Linked DNA regions of Homo sapiens: region 2 is linked to region 1. The links are contacts of gene promoters, found by promoter capture Hi-C in human tissues and cell types (Jung and others, 2019). All regions are on one chromosome and are shown on one strand. Each heading gives the region's core, a stretch centred on a gene start or on the middle of the fragment in contact. The rest is flanking DNA. Distances are from core to core; before and after follow the strand shown.

Evidence for each region. Contacts are between HindIII fragments. The study calls those that stand out against the background at their distance.
Region 2: a contact is called between a fragment that was not itself captured here and the fragment with the promoter of NRN1L in region 1, in 6 of the 25 tissues and cell types used here (IMR-90 fibroblasts, dorsolateral prefrontal cortex, mesenchymal stem cells and 3 more).

What each region holds. Positions count from the first base shown.
Region 1 is chr16:67,883,587-67,887,798 of GRCh38, reverse strand. NRN1L (neuritin 1 like) reads right to left here and starts at 2,914. Exons shown (of 3, transcript NM_198443.2): 1 at 2,817-2,914; 2 at 1,945-2,077; 3 at 1,431-1,825. The coding sequence starts at 2,895. The coding sequence ends at 1,540. It overlaps EDC4 (enhancer of mRNA decapping 4), which reads right to left. Exons shown (of 29, transcript NM_014329.5): 28 at 4,068-4,212; 29 at 3,300-3,843. The coding sequence ends at 3,651. RefSeq lists enhancers at 2,320-2,827, 2,828-3,337, 3,643-3,822. The HindIII fragment of the contact is 2,833 bases long and covers 1,859-4,212 here.
Region 2 is chr16:67,915,848-67,919,996 of GRCh38, reverse strand. All of the region lies in intron 2 of PSKH1 (protein serine kinase H1), which reads right to left. Among named protein-coding and RNA genes, the nearest start is that of CTRL, 14 kb to the left of the region's middle. RefSeq lists enhancers at 100-605, 3,758-4,149. The HindIII fragment of the contact is 5,309 bases long and covers 1-4,149 here.

The sequences.
Region 1 (4,212 bases), core at 1,665-4,164:
CATCCTTGCTAACACAGTGAAACCCCGTCTACTAAAAATACAAAAAAAATTAGCCAGGCGTGGTGGCGGGCGCCTGTAGTCCAAGCTACTCGGAAGGCTGAGGCAGGAGAATGGTGTGAACCCGGGAGGCGGAACTTGCAGTGAGCAGAGATCGCGCCATTGCACTCTAGCCTGGGCGACTGAGGGAGACTCTGTCTCAAAAAAAAAAAAAAAAGAAAGTAAAGAATAAGGCCAAACATGGTGGCTCACACCTGCAATCCCAGCACTTTGGAAGGCCGCGGGGGTCAGATCACCTGAGGTTAGGAGTTCGAGACCAGCCTGGCCAACATGGCAAACCCATCTCTACTAAAAATATAAAATTAGTCGGGCATGGTGGCGGGCACCTGTAATCCCAGCTACTAGGGAGGCTGAGGCAGGAGAATTGCTTGAACCCGGGAGGCAGAGGTTGCAGTGAGCCGAGATTGTGCCACTGCATTCCAGCCTGGGTGACAAGAAAAAAAAAAAAAGTAAAGAATAAAGTGGAGGGAGTGATAATAGAAGTCAATGAGGAGACTATGGCAGTGCCTCTGTAAACCGTGGGGTAATGGCTTGGAATAGGATCCTGGCGGTGGTGGGAGAAGGCTGATCAGAAGAGGGTCCTACCCCCAGAAGGCTTTCTCCTTCCTCAGATTCCTCTGCCTAGCTGATTTTGCTCTTCCTTTCCACCGGTATGAAGAGGGGCTCCTCGCACACCACATGCTCTTGTTCCACGGCTTCCAGAAAGCCTTCTGCAATTGTTTTGACTACACACTGCCTACCTCTTCTCAAAGAACAAGCTTGTGGAGAGCAGAGGCCAGAGGAACCCTTATGGTGACTCCAGTTTTTGCCACTTCAGGTCACATCAGGGGCTTGAATGTGGACTTCAACAAAGGCTCCCCACCTTCTAGAACAGGCCTCCCTCAGATAGACCAGAAAACCAGAGGAAGGGACTGAGCACATAGTCTGTGCTATGCCTTGAAGGCTGAGGTGACAGGCAGAGAGAGGAGGAGGTGAAATGGTCAGGAGCCCAGAGGCTGGGGAGGGGGTGGAGCTGAGATCAAGGGCACTTCACCAGCTCACCTGGCCCCCAGGGGCCAGGATAGAAGGGGTAGGCAGTGCTAGGAGTGCAGGGCTGAGACCCCACCCTCCCGATCTCAACCCGCACAGGAAGGTAGAGGAAGACTGTGCATTCTGGCAGATCTCCAGTCTCCACTGGAGGAGCTCTTGGGGCCTGCATGAAATGGAAAGCTTTGCGCTGCCACTGGGAAATGAGTGTTTGTAAGGAGGAAGATTGAGGGCCCCTGTGGTGGCCCTCAGCCCCGCCCATTCCATCCAAGCAAAGGATCAGTTTCTAGGAGTCCCTGGCCCCAGCCGCAAGCAAGGCCACAGCCAGGAGAAAGGAAGGAGCTTACTACAAATATAAATACCTTTAATGAAAAGCCCTGCTGCGCTCTGCAGAGCCTGGACAACCACCGCCAGAGCAGGGCTGGAGGTACGGGCGCTGCTACCCAACCCAACAAGCTAGGCCAGAGGCCTCAGGAGGTAGGCCAGAGCCAGAGCAGCCGCCAGCAGTGGGGGCGCAGGGGCCATGGGGAGTGCAGGCGCTGTAGCCCGCAGCGTCTCCTGGTTGGTTTCGGAGCCTGTGCCGCGCTCCCGAACATGCACCGGGGCACCGCACAGAGTGTGCAAGTTATTCGGACGGGGGGCCTGGCGAGCTTCTTGCTGTAGTGATTCCCACACTGCAGCTGCCTCCTCCGGACAGCCTGACAGGACCTGAGAGGCACAGGCATGGAAGTCATTCCAAGACCTGTTAAGGGAGTGGGATTAGGGGGATTAGGTGAGGCAAGGAGACTTTAGCTTGGGAAATAAAAGGTTCAGTCCCCAATGGTGGCACAGGTTGGGCCACTGCCTCACACCCGCCGGTACCTGCAGATGGTCTCCAGCTCGCCTCCGCGGCCCATGCTGTCCCCCAAGCGGATGAGACACTCGGCGAAGCCCTGGTATATGGTGTCACATCGGTTTGGGCCCGCTGCAGCTGCTGCCAGGGGAGGTAAAAGGACTAGAAGTGGGGCGGGGGTGGGGTGGGGAAGGAATGGTAGATAGGATGAGCCAGGCTCATCCCCCAGCCCCCAGGGGCTTGTTTACCTGGGAGCACTCTGGGGATGTGACTCAGCGGAAAAAGGGTGCCCCAGGGAACTAAAGGGCAAGTCTGGGGATTACCTACCCAGGCCCCCTTCAAGGTAGGACCCAGACTGGGATTTGTACAGGGGAAGGGGGTGTTGTGTACCCCAGGTCAGCTCTTCCTTTGAGCTTCTGGGGCCGCAGGTGGGGTGACAAGGGTCCATGTAAAGGAGTCAGGACAGGGTGGAGGGGAGGGAGGTCCAGAGGCCCCGGACCAGGAGCAGGTGCATCTCTCTGCGGTTTAGACAAGCTTTGCTTGGCCCTCCGAACTCTCTCTAAAGATAAATATTTTTGGAGAGACAAGGCAGGATGCAGAGGTATTGGGATCCAGGCCAGACCCTCAGAGAGGACTTAGGGATCCTACGACTGGTCTATAAGTCCTGCCATTGGCATGTCTCCCTTTATCATAAGAGGGGATGCAAATTTTGGAGTCCTTCTCCCATAACTGGGGCTGTTTGTGCCTCTCACTTTCTGTCCTGAAGTCACCAGCACACCTTCCTGGAGCCCTTACAACTCTTCTCCACCCTGGCACCCAGCGTTCCCACACACCCTATGCCCAGCCTGGCTTGGCTGGGCGAGAAGGGGGTGTGGCCCGGGCCCCGGATGCCCGCACTCACCGAGGGGCAGCAACAGCAACGGCCTCAGGGCATGGGGTGGTTGCCGGCAGCAGCAGCGGCGGCGGCAGCAGCGCATCATCCCTGGCTGAGAGCCTAGTGCAGGAGCTAGCTGCTTGGAGTGCAGCCCGTCCGCCCAGCCCCCGGAGGGAGGGACGGTGATTGGATGGGAGCTGGGGGTGGGGCTCCGAACCCAGCCGGCGGCTCCGCCTCCAACACCCAGATGGGAAAAGGAGCGAGGAGACCTCAGAGAGCAGAAATTCGCAGGAGCACAGGCTGGTGCTGGGCAGGCCCCTGGACCCTCACTCCATAGAAGGAGGGAGAAGGGAGATCTGGGAAGGCAGTTGGAGCAGATGAGTGGGTAACCCGGCCCCTTGGCTGGGTTGGCCTCGACAGAGCTCCACGGGCAAGAGATGGGCAGAGAACGAACAGACGGCAGTTATGAGAGTCACACCAAAGACAAACCAAAAGCACACACATACTCCATTTTATTCCAAAAGCATTTAATTGAATTTCTCAATGTTTTTCAAAAACAAAAAGATCCAAATTAGAGGTAAAAAGGAACATGGAAAATTCCACTCAAGTGGTGTCACGATCTCAGGGTCATGCTCCAGGCATGGCAGAACCCAAGCAGGCGCAATACCTGCCCTGGGCCCAGCTAAACCTTCTGACTACCACACGCTGTAGACCACGGCCAGTGCTCCCTGCTCCCTGACCCCCAAACACCCCAGAGATGGGGGCCTGAGCAGGTAAAGGCCAGCCGTGACCCTGCCCCAGCCTAGGCCTGTCTGCTGGCCTTCAGTGCCATCCCACCCCTGGGCAAGGCAGGCTTAGCAGCTAAGGGAGGCTGGGGGTCACGAGGCCATGCAGCATGAGGCTGAGACGCCGAGCTGCTTTGCCAAGTGAGTTGTGTGGCTCAGCCTGCAGGAACTGAAAAAGCTTTTGGCGCACCTGGGCCATAACGGAGCCCATGTGGTCCCGAGTGATGGGGTCACTGTGGTCCAGGTGCATCACGGCCTCTTCCAGGTAGCTGGGGATGGGGGGGAAAGGACAGGCTACAGGTGGGTGCCAGCAGACGGGAGCGCCCCCTGGTGGCACCGAGGCCCAGAGGGAACCCTCTGGGTGAAGGCAGAAAGGACTGGTGGAGAAAATTAGGGAGAGGATTCAGGCAGAAGTGGGCGTCAGCTTCAAACTGCTCCCTCCCACTGCCCCACTCCCCAGCTCATCTCCCCATCCCTGGCTGTCCCCACTTACCTGAGCTTGAGGTCAGTTCGAGTGCCAAGGTCAGATGCCAGCTGCTGGATGAGGGAAAGGAGCACAGGCTGGGAGAGCGGGCAGGGTGGCTGCCCAAAAACCTGGGCTGGGTCCACAGTTTCACACACATACAGCACCAGGTTCA
Region 2 (4,149 bases), core at 477-2,976, 33 kb before region 1:
GATGCTATGGGTGGTCAGCAGGAACGGCTGAATGCAGCAGCGTGGCGGGTGGGTCTGCTCCTGCCACTACAGGGAAGTTGCTGCTTTCTGGGGTGTATGCAACCAGGGCAGCAGTGACAAAGGGAAACCTAGAGGACAGGGCTCTGGGGAGCCCAGTGGTGGCACAGAGGTGACACAAGATGGGGCTGCTGCTCTTCTCCACTCAGAGCTTCCTCTGGCCTCACATGGAGAGAGCTTCCTCTGCCTTCCTGCCAGAGGTCTCCAACCAAGGGCAGGTCCCCAGCCACAGTGACCAACTGAGGGTCCACTGCCTCCATCCAGTGGCCCAAACCATGCCACCTCCCAGTGACTAGTCAGGAATCCAGCCTGAGGGCATTGGCTCCTGCAGTGAAGGAGGGAGACTTAATCTGTTGAACACTTCGTGTTTTGGTGAAGTGGGGATGGCTTTTCCCAAGGGAACCTTCCTGGCCAGGTATGGGGGCATCTGATCATCCTCATGGGATCCTCACACACAGACAGCACAAGCATCCAGCACTTGACATGCAGCAGCCCCAGCAGGCTGGCAGGGAAGAAGGGCTTAGGGACAGATGCCTCATAGCAAAGAATTCTAAACTGATTTGTGTTTGCTCGTGCTGTCAGCTATTGAGACAGTCGTGGGAAAGCCATCCTCTGACTCTGGGAGCAGGGGTCAGTGAGAAGAGAGTTGAGCTGATGGGTCCATCACAGTCCCCACCCACACTGAAGGTGAGAAAAGTCAGGCAATTAAAGCATCCAGGAGAATCCAAGCATAAGCCAGGAAACACGCTCCCCGCTTCCCTGCCTCCACTCTGCCACCAGCATATACATTTGGTCTCCTGCTCTCCAGACACCCGGACAGCGCTCCCCATGACTCTGGGATGAGGTCCTATCCCTGCTCACATGGCTGCTCCTTGTGACATATGCGGGGAGATGAGGGGCAGGGAGGGAGACAGAAAGTCAGAGCATAGGACCAGGCTGCATAACCAAGCCCCGTCACCTAGAGAGCACTGAGACATGCCACATTCTCTGCATCTCATTTTATCTTCTACATCCCAAGGCATGTTAGAGTCACTTTAAGAAGTGGGGAGGTCGAGTGTGGTGGCTCACACCTGTAATCCCAGCACTTTGGGAGGCCAAGGCAGGCAGATCACCTGAGGTCAGGAGTTCCAGACCAGCCTGGCCAACGTGGTAAAACCCCGTCTCTACTAAAAATACAAAAATTAGCCAGGTGTGGTGGCTGGCACCTATAATCCCAGCTACTTGGGAGGCTGAGGCAGGAGAATTGCTTGAACCCAAAAGGTGGAGGCTTTGGTGAGCCGAGATCACACCACTGCACTCCAGCCTGGGCGACAGAGTAAGACTCCATCTCAAAAAAAAAAAAAAAAAGAACTACAGGTGGTCAAGCTCATTGCCCCTTCAGGTATACTTAGCCCCAGATCAATGTATGGTCAACCTGCAGACCAGACACCCAACCCTGGGAGGCCACCTCCCACCAGCCCTTGTCACCCAGGTAGCAGCAGAGTGGCTATGAAGGTGGGCTTCCTCTCCCAACAGTACTCTGTCCCCTGCCCAGCAGCACTCACAAGGCTCTGTGAGAAATTCTACCCAAGCCCACCTGTTCCTAGTACAGTCACCTGGGCTCACCCACAGCTCAGAGACTGGCCAAGCAGAGGAGGGTGATAATTCAGGATGCTGAATGCAGCAGACAGCAAAGCTCCTAATGGCATCACTCTAATATCAATCCTACAAGAGCCCCTTCATCCGTCCTGCCTCTAGGAATAGAACTCTTGACAAAAGCACTGACATCAAGGATGTCACATTTCATGTCAAGTGAATCACAGACTCTCTGCATTGGAGGACCCTGACAGTTCTCTAGCATGAGTCTGTAGCTGATGACTCACCTTCTGTGTCATCCTTTAGAAACAGCTCCTCCAGGCCTCCTGTGATAGGAAGCCGCCTCTCAAGGTGACTGTGTCCTCAAACTGCTCTCACATTCACACAGGCCTTCGCTACCTCTCCCAACCTGTGTCTCCCCACCACTTCCAGCATGCCCTCTCCACTCCAGCGTGCCCTCTCCACTCCAGTGCCTCTGGGTGCTGGGTAAACATTCAGATTTTTCCTTTCCAGTCATCTCCTCCTCAGCATTTACCCCTCTTCCAAGAGTCTTGTATTTGCCCTAAAAGTTGACAAGCACACACCAGCCCTGGGCCTTTAAATCCTCCCCCTGCCTGTGCCCACAGGCAGCTGTGGCCAGCAGCCCCCTAAGCGCATTGCCAGCAGGCTCTCTGCTTCCTCCTGGAGTCTGGCCCCTTGAGGGGAGCACTCCACTGGCTGCACAGCCTGTCTGCCTGCCAGCAGTCACATTTGGGACGCTTCCCAGGGCATCACCAATAGCCACTGGTGCTTCCCTCAGGAGAAGCCAAGAGAAAATTCCCCCACCAGTTATCACTTATAAATACTGCAGTTCAACCCAGCATACAGGTACCACTGTGCACTAAGCCTGGACACGACAGTGGACAGCATATGTATTGATGTACATGCTGTCCTCAAGGACCCTACAGGCTAGACAGGAGAGATGTGTCCACTGATCAGCAGCCAGAAAGCACTGAAACAAGAAACCAGCAACGTGCTGAGGCACACATACCAGGGAGAGCAGACTGCAGCACTAGACAGGCCAAGAACTCTGAAGCCAAGACAGCCTGGAATCAAATCCCAGATGTGCCACCCTCCAGTCGGGAGACCATGGCCAAGTTATGTAACCTCACCATCCTCAGTTTCCTCATCTGTAAGGTGGGGGATTACGTACCACCTGGCAGGGTTGTCATAGATTGGAGATGGGGGGTGTAGAACATTCAGCCCTGGGTCTGCTACTTAGTGGGCACCACACAATGGCAGTAGGCAGCATTATTTCTAAAGGAAACAACTAAGACCGATACTGGGAGCAGCGTGAACAGTTGAGGCAGAAGCTTGGTGTGGAGAGTGAATGGGGGCAATGGCTCAGGCCTGTGGTGTGCAGGGAGTGGGGTGGGGTCTAGGGCATGGGCTTCAGGCTGGGGGATCTGGAGTGCCAGGATGGTAGGCAGGACCCCACATGCTCTCCAGGTCAGAGGGTAGCCTGGAATCCTCTCCAAGTCTGCCCATACAAGCTGATGTCCCTCCTGCAGAGCTAGGACTCTGCTCCATACTCCTTCACCTCCTATACTGTGGCTTACATATGCCATGTGGATCCCACTCCCTGGGATCCCTGATCTGCCCCAAACATCCCCAGGAGGACAGGATGGAATTATTCCAGTAGCCTCCAGCTAGCCTTCCTCCTGCCAGGCTCCATTCCCACTTTCTGCTGCCTTCCTCCTCCATTACCCAGAACCCAGAGGGCTCCTCCCACAGTGCAGAGGGCTCCCAACAACAAACACCAGACCTGCCCCAGCCTCTTCAACCTCTGCTCTGTCACTCCCAATCTCCTGTTTATTCTGGAGCACTCAGCAATGCTCCCTTCTCTGGGCCTCCTCCTTCTCAAAACTCATCTTCTGCAGGAAGCTTTCTATTCAAGTCCATGGATGCCACTGAGCCTGACAGAGGACTGGGGCTGCATGGACAGAGCTTGCAGGAAATAGGCACACCAGACCCGGCCTGGTGTACAGGGGAGAGCACTCTATGGGGTCAGGGAACAGGAAAGGTGCCCCTAGAAAGGCACCAAGCACCACGAGACACTCGCTGGTGAAGAATGCATACCTCCAAACGCTGCTGCGTCAGAGGTCCTTCATTCACACAGCAACAACCCCCTCATCATGGAACACTCTCTCTCTCACAGGTTATCCTGGCAGAGGCTTGCTCACTTACATGGCCTTCCTAATGGCAAACACCTATTACACATATAGGACAGATGGCTGGAGTGGGTGGGGTCAGGGCCCAACCACCTGACCTGAGCACCATAGTCCATGTTCCAGACTGCCCAGGCCCAGTGGCTCTATGCCAAGGCCTGTGTTCACATGTGTCTGCCAATGCGGGTTCATTCTATGGCCATTCCCTATTCTAGTTCCTTCTCCCCAGGCAATCTCAACCTCTAGGGATAGGAAGAACAGGCCTTCACGTCTCTTGCATTTTCCCCAGGTGTGAGCAGGTGTGCTTGTG